Regions from separate parts of the Homo sapiens genome. Here regions 1 and 3 are each linked to region 2. Evidence: promoter capture Hi-C in human tissues and cell types (Jung and others, 2019). All regions are on one chromosome and are shown on one strand. The core of a region is centred on a gene start or on the middle of the fragment in contact, and the rest is flanking DNA. Distances in the headings are between cores, read along the strand shown.

Region 1 (3,334 bases), core at 302-2,801, 720 kb after region 2:
GCGATTTCAGGTATCCGTGGTCAACTATGGTCCAAAAATATTAAGTGGAAAATTCCAGAAGTAAACAATCCATAAGTTTAAATTGCATGCTATTCTGAGTAGTGTGATAAAATCTCTCATGTTCCCACACCATCCCACCTGAAATGTGAATCATCCCTTTGTCCAGCATGTACACACTGTGTATGCTACCCACCCATTAATCACTTAGTGGCTGTCTTAGTTACCAGGTCCACTGTTGCAGGATTGCTGTGCTTGTCTTCAAGTTACCCTTATTTTACTTAATAATGGCCCCAAAGCACAAGATCAGTGATAGTGGCAATTTGGATACGCCAAAGAGAAGCCATAAAGTGCTTTCTTTAAGTGAAAAAGTGAAAGTTCTCAATTTAATAAGGAAAGAAAAAAAAGTTTGCTGAGATTGCTAAGATCTACAGTAAGAACAAATCTTATCTGTGAATTGTGAAGAAGGGAAAATAAATTTGTGCCTAGCATAAATGGGTTTGGTACTATCCATTCAGGGATCCTCCTGGGGTCTTGGAGCACATCCCCCATGAATAAGTGGGCACTACTGCCTTCTCTACTGATCTACAAGTTTACCGATTGATTCTTCTGCTTGCTCAAATCTACTGTTGAACTCCTCCAGTGAATTTTTCAATTATGATTTTCTACTTAGGAATTTCAGTGTAGCTCCTTAAAAATTTCTTCTTACTGACAATCTCTATTTGATGCATTGTCATCATACTCTCCTTTAATTTTTAAAACATGGTTTCTTTCATTCTTCAAACATATTTATAATATTTTCTTTGAAGTCTTTGTTAAATCTAACGTCTGCATCCTCCCTAAGAAAGTTTCTGCCTGTTGTTGTTGTTTTTTTTTTTTTTCCTCTGCAGAAAGGAACTGGGGATCTCACTATATGGGATGGGGGTCATATTTTCTTGTTTCCTTGCAAGTCTCATAATTTTTCATTGTAAATTGGACATTTTAGGTCATATATTGTAACAACTCTGGATTCTGATCCTTCCCAGGCTTATTGATGCTGTTTTGTTCTTGTTATTGTTGTTCATCTATTTATTTGTTTAGTGACTTGGCTGGACTAATACTGTGAAGTATATTTTTCCCCCGCAGTAGGCAGCCTCTAATGTCTCTGCTTAGATAGTTGTTCCTTGTTTTTTTGTTTTTAAACTTGAATTCCTGGGTGTTGCCCTCGGTCAGTCACTGATTGGTCAGAGGTCACGCTTAAGCTCACTGAGCCAGTAAGGTTTTCATCCTTTTCCACTGGGTCTGTGTGTGGCTTGGGAACAACTTTTGGAGTTCGAGGAGTTTATATATCTGCCACTTTTAACTCAGGGACTGACTTGGAAGTACCCTGTCTGGTTGATCTTGGGTGGTCACAGCCGTGGGCTTTTCCACAGTCTCCTGGACCACCAGTATCAAGTGTGAATTTTTTTACTGTCCCTCGTCCCAATTTCTCTGTTAAACTTCTGCTGGTCTGCATCTATTAGCATCACAAAACTATTAGCCTACTCTGTTAGCCCTTATGATATCTGTTTTTCTATGTCTGTTATTTTTTACATTGCTCTGGGACATGAATATCCTACACTCTGTTCCAAATAAAGTCAAAGGCAGGGCTGCAGAGCTGCAAGTCCTCACAGCTTGCTCAGCCCCCAACCTGGTTAGAGCCTCTGTGTTACTGAGCAGGAGCTGGGGATATGGGGAACTCTGATCTGTTTTGTTTGCCCTGCCCAGGGTCTCCCTGTAGAGCAGGACATTAGGGAGTGAGTACTGGCACTACCGAACAGCTACAGCTGCCCATGGGGAAGAAGGGGAGGATGAGTGCTGAGTGCTACCGTTTCTTAGATCTTCACCTGGGATAGATCTTGATCCTCAGCAATAGGAAAGTGGGGGACATGGGCACCTCACTGGCTGCAAGCCTGCCCAGAATAGTTCTGAAACCTGAAGCTAGAGGGATGGATGCAGCCCATGGTTCAAATGCCACAGTTTCTTGCTGAGCTTCAGTAGATTTTATTGAATAAGTGTTTCTCAATTTATTATATAACCTTAGGTCAATTTCCAGAGACTTTAAATGGTTGTCTCAGATTATTTTGACCAGTTAAATCAATGCTTCTTTTGTTTCTTTTGTTTGTTTTTTTTTTTTTAGACGGAATCTCACTCTGTCACCCAGGCTGGAGTGCAGTGGCGTGATCTCAGCTCACTGCAACCTCTGCCTCTGGGGTTCAAGCGATTCTCCTGCCTCAGCCTCCCAAGTAGCTGGGACTACAGGCATGCGCCACCATGCCCAGCTAATTTTTTTTGTATTTTTAGTAGAGATGGGGTTTCATCATGTTGGCCAGGCTGGTCTCAAACTCCCGACCTCAGGTGATCTGCCCGCCTCAGCCTCCTAAAGTGCTGGGATTACAGACGTGAGCCACAGTGCCCGGCCAAATCAATGTTTCTTTGAAGGAGAGAATTCATCAAACTCTTCATCCCACCATTTTGGAAGTCCCACCCACCCCCTGGATTGGTCTGTAATTTATAATTTTACTTATTTGCTTTAAATCAGCAGCCCCCCAACCTTTTTGACACCAGGGACCAGTTTCGTGGAAGACAATTTTTCCGTGGGGCAGAAGGAATGCTTTTGGGATGAAACTGTTCCACCGTAGATCATCAGGCATTACATTCTCCTAAGGAGTGCACAACCTAGATCCCTCACATGCGCATTTCACAATGGGGTTTATGCTCCTATGAGAATCTAATGCCACTGCTGATCTGTCAGGAGGCAGAGCTCAGGTGGTAATGCTCACTTGCCCGCTGCTCATCTCCTGCTGTGCAGCCCAGTTCCTAAAGCCCAGGGGCTGGGAACTCCTGCTTTAACTTGCAATATTAAAACATTGCAAAATGCCAAATACAATCATTTACTTAAAATAAAACTGCAGAATGTAGTTTCAGTATTCTATCATTTTTTTTTTTTGTATCTATCTCTTCAAACTTTGGCCTACCTTAAGGCAGAGCCTATGTTATATTCATTTCTGTTTTTTTTATGCAGGGAGCATTAAGTAGGAAGTAATGGTCTTTTTAGCTTAAGAACAAAACTAAATACTATCTGTTTTTTTGAATATTTGAGTCCACAATTACCTTACCCAGTAGTTTACCTTCAGAAAATGGCTGGTTAGCTAGTTACTGGGCTAGCCCCTAGTTGGTCTTCATTGTACCCATATACATACAAACACACACTCACATATTTACCTTTTCATAATCTTTTCCCAGCAACTTTTCTCCTTTAAGTGTGTCCATTTGTAAAGGCTTTTTTTTTTTTTAACTTATTAGATTTTAAAGCCAT
Region 2 (3,363 bases), core at 844-3,343:
TGTCATCCACGCTGTAGTGCGGTGGTGCGATCTCAGCTCACTGCAACCTCCGCCTCCCGGGTTCAAGTCATTCTCCTGCCTCAGCCTCCCGAGTACTTGGGATTACAAGCACGTTCCACCACACCCGGCTAATTTTTGTAATTTTAGTCGAGACAGGGTTTCACCATGTTCGCCAGGCTGGTCTCGAACTCATGACCTCAAGTGACCTGCCCACCTCGGCCTCCCAAAGTGCTGGGATTACCGCCGTAAGTCACTACACCCAGCCTCAAAAACTATATTTTTAAAAATTAGCAGCTGGGCGCAGTGGCTCATGCCTGTAATCCCAGCACTTTGGGAGGCCAAGGCAGGTAGATCGCGAGGTCAGGCGTTCGAGACCAGCCTGGCCAAGTTGGTGAAACCTCATCTCTACTAAAAATACAAAAATTAGCTGGGCATGGTGGTAGGTGCCTGTAGTCCCAGCTACTAGGGAGGCTGAGGCAGAAGAATTGCTTGAACCCAGGAGGTGGAGGTTGCAGTGAGCAGAGATCACGCCATTGCACTCCAGCCTGGGCGACAGGGTGAGACTCCATGTCTCAAAAAAAAAAAAAAATAGCCAGGCACGGTGGCTCACGCCTGTAATCCCAATACTTTAGGAGGCCAAGGCAGGAGATTTGCTTGATCCTCCCAGGAGTTAGAGATCAGCCTGGGCAACATAGCAAGATCCTGTTTCTATAAAAAATACATTTTTAAAAATTGGCCAGCCGGGCGCAGTGGCTCACACCTGCAATCCCAGCGCTTTGGGAGGCTGAGGTGGGTGGATCACCTGAGGTCAGGAGTTCGAGACCAGCCTCACCAACGTGGAGAAACCCTATCTCTACTAAAAATACAAAATTAGACAGGTGTGGTGGCACATGCCTGTAATCCCAGCTACTCAGGAGGCTGAGGCAGGAGAATCACTTGAACCCAGGAGGTGGAGGTTGCGGTGAGCCAAGATCGAGCCATTGTACTCCAGCCTGGGCAACAAGAGTGAAAACTCCGTTTCAAAAAAAACAAAAAAAAAATTGGCGGGGGTGCCAGGCACGGTGGCACATGCCTGTAATCCCAGCACTTTGGGAGGCCAAGGCGGGTGGATCACTTGAGATCAGGAATTTGAGACCAGCCAAGCCAACATGGTGAAACCCCGTCCCTACTAAAAATACAAAAATTAGCTGGCCGTGGGGCACATGCCTGTAATCCCAGCTACTTGGGAGGCTGAGGCAGGAGAATCGCTTGAACCCAGGAGGCGGAGGTTGCAGTGAGCCCAGATCACGCCACTGCACTCCAGCCTGGACAACAAAGGAGACTCCATCTTAAAAAAAAATTAATTAAATAAATTTTAAAAATTAGCCGGAGCATGGTGTTGTGTGCCTGTGGTTCCAGCTACTGGGAAGGCTGAGGTGGGAGGATTAACTGAACCTGGGAGTTTGAGGCTCCAGTTAGCTGTGAACTGACCTCCCTGGGTGACATATATATATTTAAGCCACTGAGCTGTGAAGGTTGTGAAGGTATGTGAGTTATGTCTTGAAAAATACACACATAGTGAGCGCCAAATCCCGGGAGTAGTGTTTAAGTGGCGGGCTTGTCAGCTGTCAAGGGCTCTGCAGCCCTTTCTCTGAATCCAAGTTCTTCTTCCTGTGGACAGGGAACCCAGGCTGCGAACTGGGAGGATGTGGCCTCGTGGGGGGCAGGGCCAGCGTGCTGTGATGGGGATGGGGCTGGGCAGGTTGGGGCTGCCTGCTACTCCCCACTCCTGACTCTGGGTGGGGACAGAAGGCAGAGGGAGGCTCCTGGCACCTGGGGCACAGGAATCTCAGGCATGTGGTCCTGAGCCTGTTTCCAAAAGCCAGACCCTCCTCCCCAGGGCGGAGAGACTGGGAGGGGCCCCAATCCAGGCTCCGGGATGGCCTGGCTGGCATCTGGGGTTCCAGTGGCCCCTCTCCCTTGGCCCTGGCAGTGGGGCTGGATACTGGCCTGCCTCCCACCAGAGTCCCCCCAGCTCCTCCCTGCTGTGGGCTGGCCTGGGAGGAAGGGGGTGGGGTGCACTTACATTTGCAGGTCTTTCCAGCCCCTGGGGCAGCCTGATTAACCAGCTTCTCCAGGGCCAAGCTGTTGGGGGTGAGGTGCAGCCCGAAGCAGCCAGACCAGCCCCTGAGCCTCCCGGGTGCTGGCAGCTGTCATGGGGCTACCCTGGGGGCAGCCTCACCTAGGGCTGCAGATGCTCCTCCTGGCGTTGAACTGTCTCCGGCCCAGCCTGAGCCTGGGTGAGTGGGGGTCCTGGATGGACGCGTCCAGCCAGACCCAAGGGGCTGGGGGCCCTGCTGGAGTGATTGGACCCTGGGCGCCCGCCCCCCTCCGATTGGGAGAGGCAGCCCCAGGGACCCCCACGCCCGTCTCCGTGGCTCACCTTTTGTCCCCCGTGGCCACAGAGCTGGTGCCCTACACACCACAGATAACAGCTTGGGACCTGGAAGGGAAGGTCACAGCCACCACCTTCTCCCTGGAGCAGCCGCGCTGTGTCTTCGATGGGCTTGCCAGCGCCAGCGATACCGTCTGGCTCGTGGTGGCCTTCAGCAATGGTACGGGGACTGCTGTGGGGCCTGGGTGAGGGTGACGGCTGAGGAGAGTGGTGGGCCCTAGGAGCCCCTCACCAGCAAGCGCCTTCAATGATTGAGCCCCTGTGGGGGCCTTTGGGAGAGTAGGTGTGGATGAATTGGGCTTTATCTAAAGGGGTAATATGTGTATTGAAAAATACACACGTAGTGAACACCAAATCCCGGGAGTAGTGCTAGTGGTGGGTTTGTCAGCTGTCAAGGGCTCTGCAACCCTTTCTCTGAATCCAAGTAGTTCTTCCTTTGGACAGGGAACCGAGGCTGCGACCTGGGAGGATGTGGCCTCCTGTGGGGCAGGGCCGGTGCACTGCAATGGGGCTGGGGCTGGGGCTGGGCAGGTTGGGACTGCCCGCTGCTCCCCACTCCTGGCTCTGGGTGGGGACAAAAGGCCAGAGGGAAGCTCCCCTTCAGGGGTAACAAAGTCGACTGGGTCTGGACTATCTCTGGGGGCCCTGAGGGAGGAGGTGGCATGGGGGGTCAGGGCTGGAGACTGGGCGAACACAGAACCCCCACTCATAAGGACAAAGCTGCTTTCTCCCCTCCCACCTCCATCTGTTCTCTCCTCCTGCAGCCTCCAGGGGCTTCCAGAACCCGGAGACACTGGCTGACATTCCGGCCTCCCCACAGCTGCTGACCGATGGCCACTACATGACGCTGCCCCTGTCTCCGGACCAGCTGCCCTGTGGCGACCCCATGGCGGGCAGCGGAGGCGCCCCCGTGCTGCGGGTGGGCCATG
Region 3 (3,271 bases), core at 510-3,009, 620 kb after region 2:
TTTTATTTAATGATTTATGTTCAATAAATGGACAGCAGAGGTCATAAGAGAGTTTTCAGAAGAAAAGGTAACCAAAACAAAGAATTCAGCAATTTAGCTTAAGAGAAAAGCCATAAGAATTTAACTTTCTGAATTATAAACTATTTAAAAAGAGATATATCTTATGACTTCTATTATTCTTATGAAATATTAATAAACTCAACAATCTTAACTAATAACTATCAACATTGAGAAGTATTTAATGAATATATATAGGTACTAATTCTATTTGAAATCTCTATGTGAAACTGCAAATAGACAGTTTTATTTCTTCCTTTCTCATCTGTATGGCTTTTCTTTCCTAGTGTTATTGCACTGGCTAAGACCGCCACTACAATATTGAGTTGGAGTGGCAAAAGCAAAAATCCTTGATTTATTTCCTATTTATGAGGGAAATTTCAACAACAATTAGGAAGTTAGCAGTAGATTTTTAAAGATGCCCTTTAGCAAGTTAAGGAAGTTTACTTTCTAATTTGCTTAGACTTTTTATCATAAGTGAATGTTGCATTTTGTCAAATGCTTTTTCTGTATCTATGAAGATGATCATATTGTTTTTCTTCTGATTTATTGATATGTGTATTACAGTGATTGATTTTCAAGTGTTTCATTCCCTCAATAAGCTACATTTCATCATGTTATTGTCAGGGAGTTTTGGGTTGTCAATTTCCTGGCCAGAAACCTCTGTGGCCACAGCACCTTTGCCCGAATTCTTGTCCTGCATCCAGGAAGAATGAGGTACGCAGACAAGTGAAGGGTGAACGAGACGAAGATGAGCTTTATTAAGTGTTACAAGAGCTCAGAGGAGACCCACAGTGGGTAGCTCCTCTCTGTAGGAAGATCATCTGTCCAGCATTCAGTTCTCATTAGAGAGGTGGCCCTGGAGAGGGTAGCTCCTCTCTACTACTGGTTGTCCCAATGTCTGCAGCTCTCAGTGGAGAGGAGGCCCTGGAGAGGGTGCCTCCTGTCTGCTGGCAGGTTGTCTCTGAAGCTCTCGGCAGAGACGGTAGCTCCTTTCTGCAGCTGGTCCTTGTGTAGTCTGTCTATCCTCTTCGTCCTTTGGCCATCGTCTGCCCTGCTCTGGCTGAGCCCAGGGCTTTTATGGACCTCAGAGGGGAGGAAGTGCATGCTGATTGGTCCATGGGCAGCCATGGGCTGCTGGAAGAGGCCCCATGAGTCCCCAAACTGGTATGCAGGACCAGCAGTTGGCCCCCAGCCTTCAGGCCCTCCCTGGACTGAAGGTAGAGCCTTACTGGGGACCTGCCCCCTTCCACCCAAGAATCTGTCTGCCTCCCGCTGCCATTCATGGCCCCAGGGCTCAACCCCAACCCCACTCCAAGATCTGAGCCAGCTCCAGGAGAGGAGAGAGGTCAGGCAGCGGGAGCAGACACCCCAAGCCTGCAGGGATGGGGGGCCTTCCGGGGCACCAGAGGGTACAGGCTGCAGAGATGCCTGGGTCCCGTGGGTGAGAGGGCAGTGGCAGCTGCACCCAGGGAGCTCCCGCAGGCCAACTCAGCAGGGGCGGGATTCCCCAGCTCCTGCCTGCTCCATGTTGTGGGAGGCCCAGGTCAGCAGCTGCTGGTCAGGCGGCTGCAGCTGCACCCAAGAGGGCAGATCCTGCCTGTTCCCAGCCCCACTTCAAGAGCGCAGGGAGGCTCAGATCTACAGCTGCAGTTTGGGCGGCTGTAGCACCGTCCAGGAGGGTGGGGCTCCTGACTGCCCCATGGAGTGGGAGGCCTGGGTCTGCAGTCTCAGCCTTTCCTCCCTACTGCAGCCAGCGTGATGGCACCAGCCACTGCCATCATTATCTTTTCTATAAATTGCTAGATTCAACTTGCTAAATTTGTGAGGATTTTTACATTTTATTTTCATGAAGGATATTGGTCCAAAGTATTCTTTCATGTCTTTTTCTGGTTTTGATATTAGGGTAAAATTAGAAGGGCAAATGTTGCCTCTTTTATTTTATGGAAGATTGTTAGAATATTGTTAATATGGTTTAGTTTTATTTGTCCTGCTCAGAAGTCAATACGCTTTCTTTGTCTAAAGTCTCCAATTTATAAACCTTCAGCGTTTCCTTGCTCTTTCTATTCTTTACTTTTGGAGCTCTCATTTAGACATGTATTTTAATTTCTCATTCTGTCATCCATATCCCTTAACTGTGTTTATATGATTTATGCCTCTTCATCTTTTCGTATTTCATTCTGGATGATTTCCTCAAATCTATGTTCTAATTCATTAATTCCTTCCCAATCTTTGCTAATCCATTGTTTAATATCTGCATTGAATTTTTCATCCCAATGACTATATTATCATTTCTAGAATATTTATTTGGTTCTTTAAAAAATCTATTTTCTCTTATTTTAAACTGCTCCGTTTATTTTACTGTGGTTTCTTTACCTTCTCTTGCCTTTTTAATTATTTTAAACATACTGATGCAAAATTATTCTAGTCTGTTCTGTTATGAGGTTGCTGTTTCTCTTTTGCTACATAAACAAACTCTGTTTCATGGTGGTTTATTTCTTGTCATGGCTTATAAATTTTTATTTATAGCTCATCTTCAGCGGGAGTTCTCTTTTCTGAAAATCCTTTACATTCTAGATTACAATAAAATTTTTCTTGTTCCCTGTAGAACAATTTTGGATTTGCTTCAGTCAGAACTCGACCAATTTCCATGGTCATGGGCCAGGTTTTCGATTTTTATTTCCTTTTATTTTTGCTTCATTTCCTTCTGTGCAAAGTAATTCATTCATACAAAAGAATAAAGTATGAATAAAGTCTAAAGAATAATAGTAAAAAGAACATCTTTATGCCTAACACCCAGTTTAAGAAATAAGACATACCAATAAGTTTCAGTTTCCTTGTTTCTTTTTTCCTCCTTTATCTTCTGGCTTTCACTTAAAAGCAGGCTGAATTGAGAACTGTGTAGAAGAAAAGGGGCTCCTGCCACACAGAAATTGTAGGGAAATCCCGATTTTTTTCTTTCCGTTTTGGTCTGCTGGCCCTGCCACAAAGCCAGCTCCAAACATAGATTTGCACTGCCACTGCCAGGCTGTGAGGTTTCCTAAGAATAAAAGAGAACACTGTCTCTCTGAATAGAGGAACTGGAAAGAGAGTGTGTGGGGGAATCCCGATACTCTTTCTCTCTTTTTCTTGATATTTTACCTCGAGGGCAGCCCCAAGTACTTAGAAGTGAATGGCAGCATAAGGCAAAATCTTTAAGACAGCCTGATCCTTT

What was found. The method cuts DNA at HindIII sites, captures the fragments that hold promoters and counts their contacts. A contact is called where the count stands out against the background at its distance.
Region 1: a contact is called between a fragment that was not itself captured here and the fragment with the promoter of UPK3B in region 2, in 1 of the 25 tissues and cell types used here (spleen).
Region 3: a fragment that was not itself captured here is called in contact with the fragment with the promoter of UPK3B in region 2 in 1 of the 25 tissues and cell types used here (dorsolateral prefrontal cortex).

The regions. Positions count from the first base shown.
Region 1 is chr7:77,230,955-77,234,288 of GRCh38, forward strand. The region is part of intron 2 of CCDC146 (coiled-coil domain containing 146); the gene reads left to right. The region is part of intron 1 of CCDC146-AS1 (CCDC146 antisense RNA 1); the gene reads right to left. Among named protein-coding and RNA genes, the nearest start is that of CCDC146-AS1, 16 kb to the right of the region's middle. The HindIII fragment of the contact is 8,636 bases long and covers 1-3,334 here.
Region 2 is chr7:76,508,459-76,511,821 of GRCh38, forward strand. UPK3B (uroplakin 3B) reads left to right here and starts at 2,094. Exons shown (of 6, transcript NM_001347684.2): 1 at 2,094-2,279; 2 at 2,445-2,594; 3 at 3,199-3,363. The coding sequence starts at 2,195. It overlaps LOC124901675 (a long non-coding RNA gene), which reads right to left and starts at 2,275. Exons shown (of 2, transcript XR_007060388.1): 1 at 2,066-2,275; 2 at 1-1,650. RefSeq lists a silencer at 476-681 and enhancers at 1,559-2,131, 2,132-2,704. The HindIII fragment of the contact is 20,174 bases long and covers 1-3,363 here.
Region 3 is chr7:77,125,630-77,128,900 of GRCh38, forward strand. All of the region lies in intron 1 of CCDC146 (coiled-coil domain containing 146), which reads left to right. It overlaps LOC124901678 (a long non-coding RNA gene), which reads right to left. Exons shown (of 3, transcript XR_007060391.1): 2 at 2,877-3,097; 3 at 877-1,143. Among named protein-coding and RNA genes, the nearest start is that of CCDC146, 4.6 kb to the left of the region's middle. RefSeq lists an enhancer at 3,062-3,181. The HindIII fragment of the contact is 7,185 bases long and covers 1-3,271 here.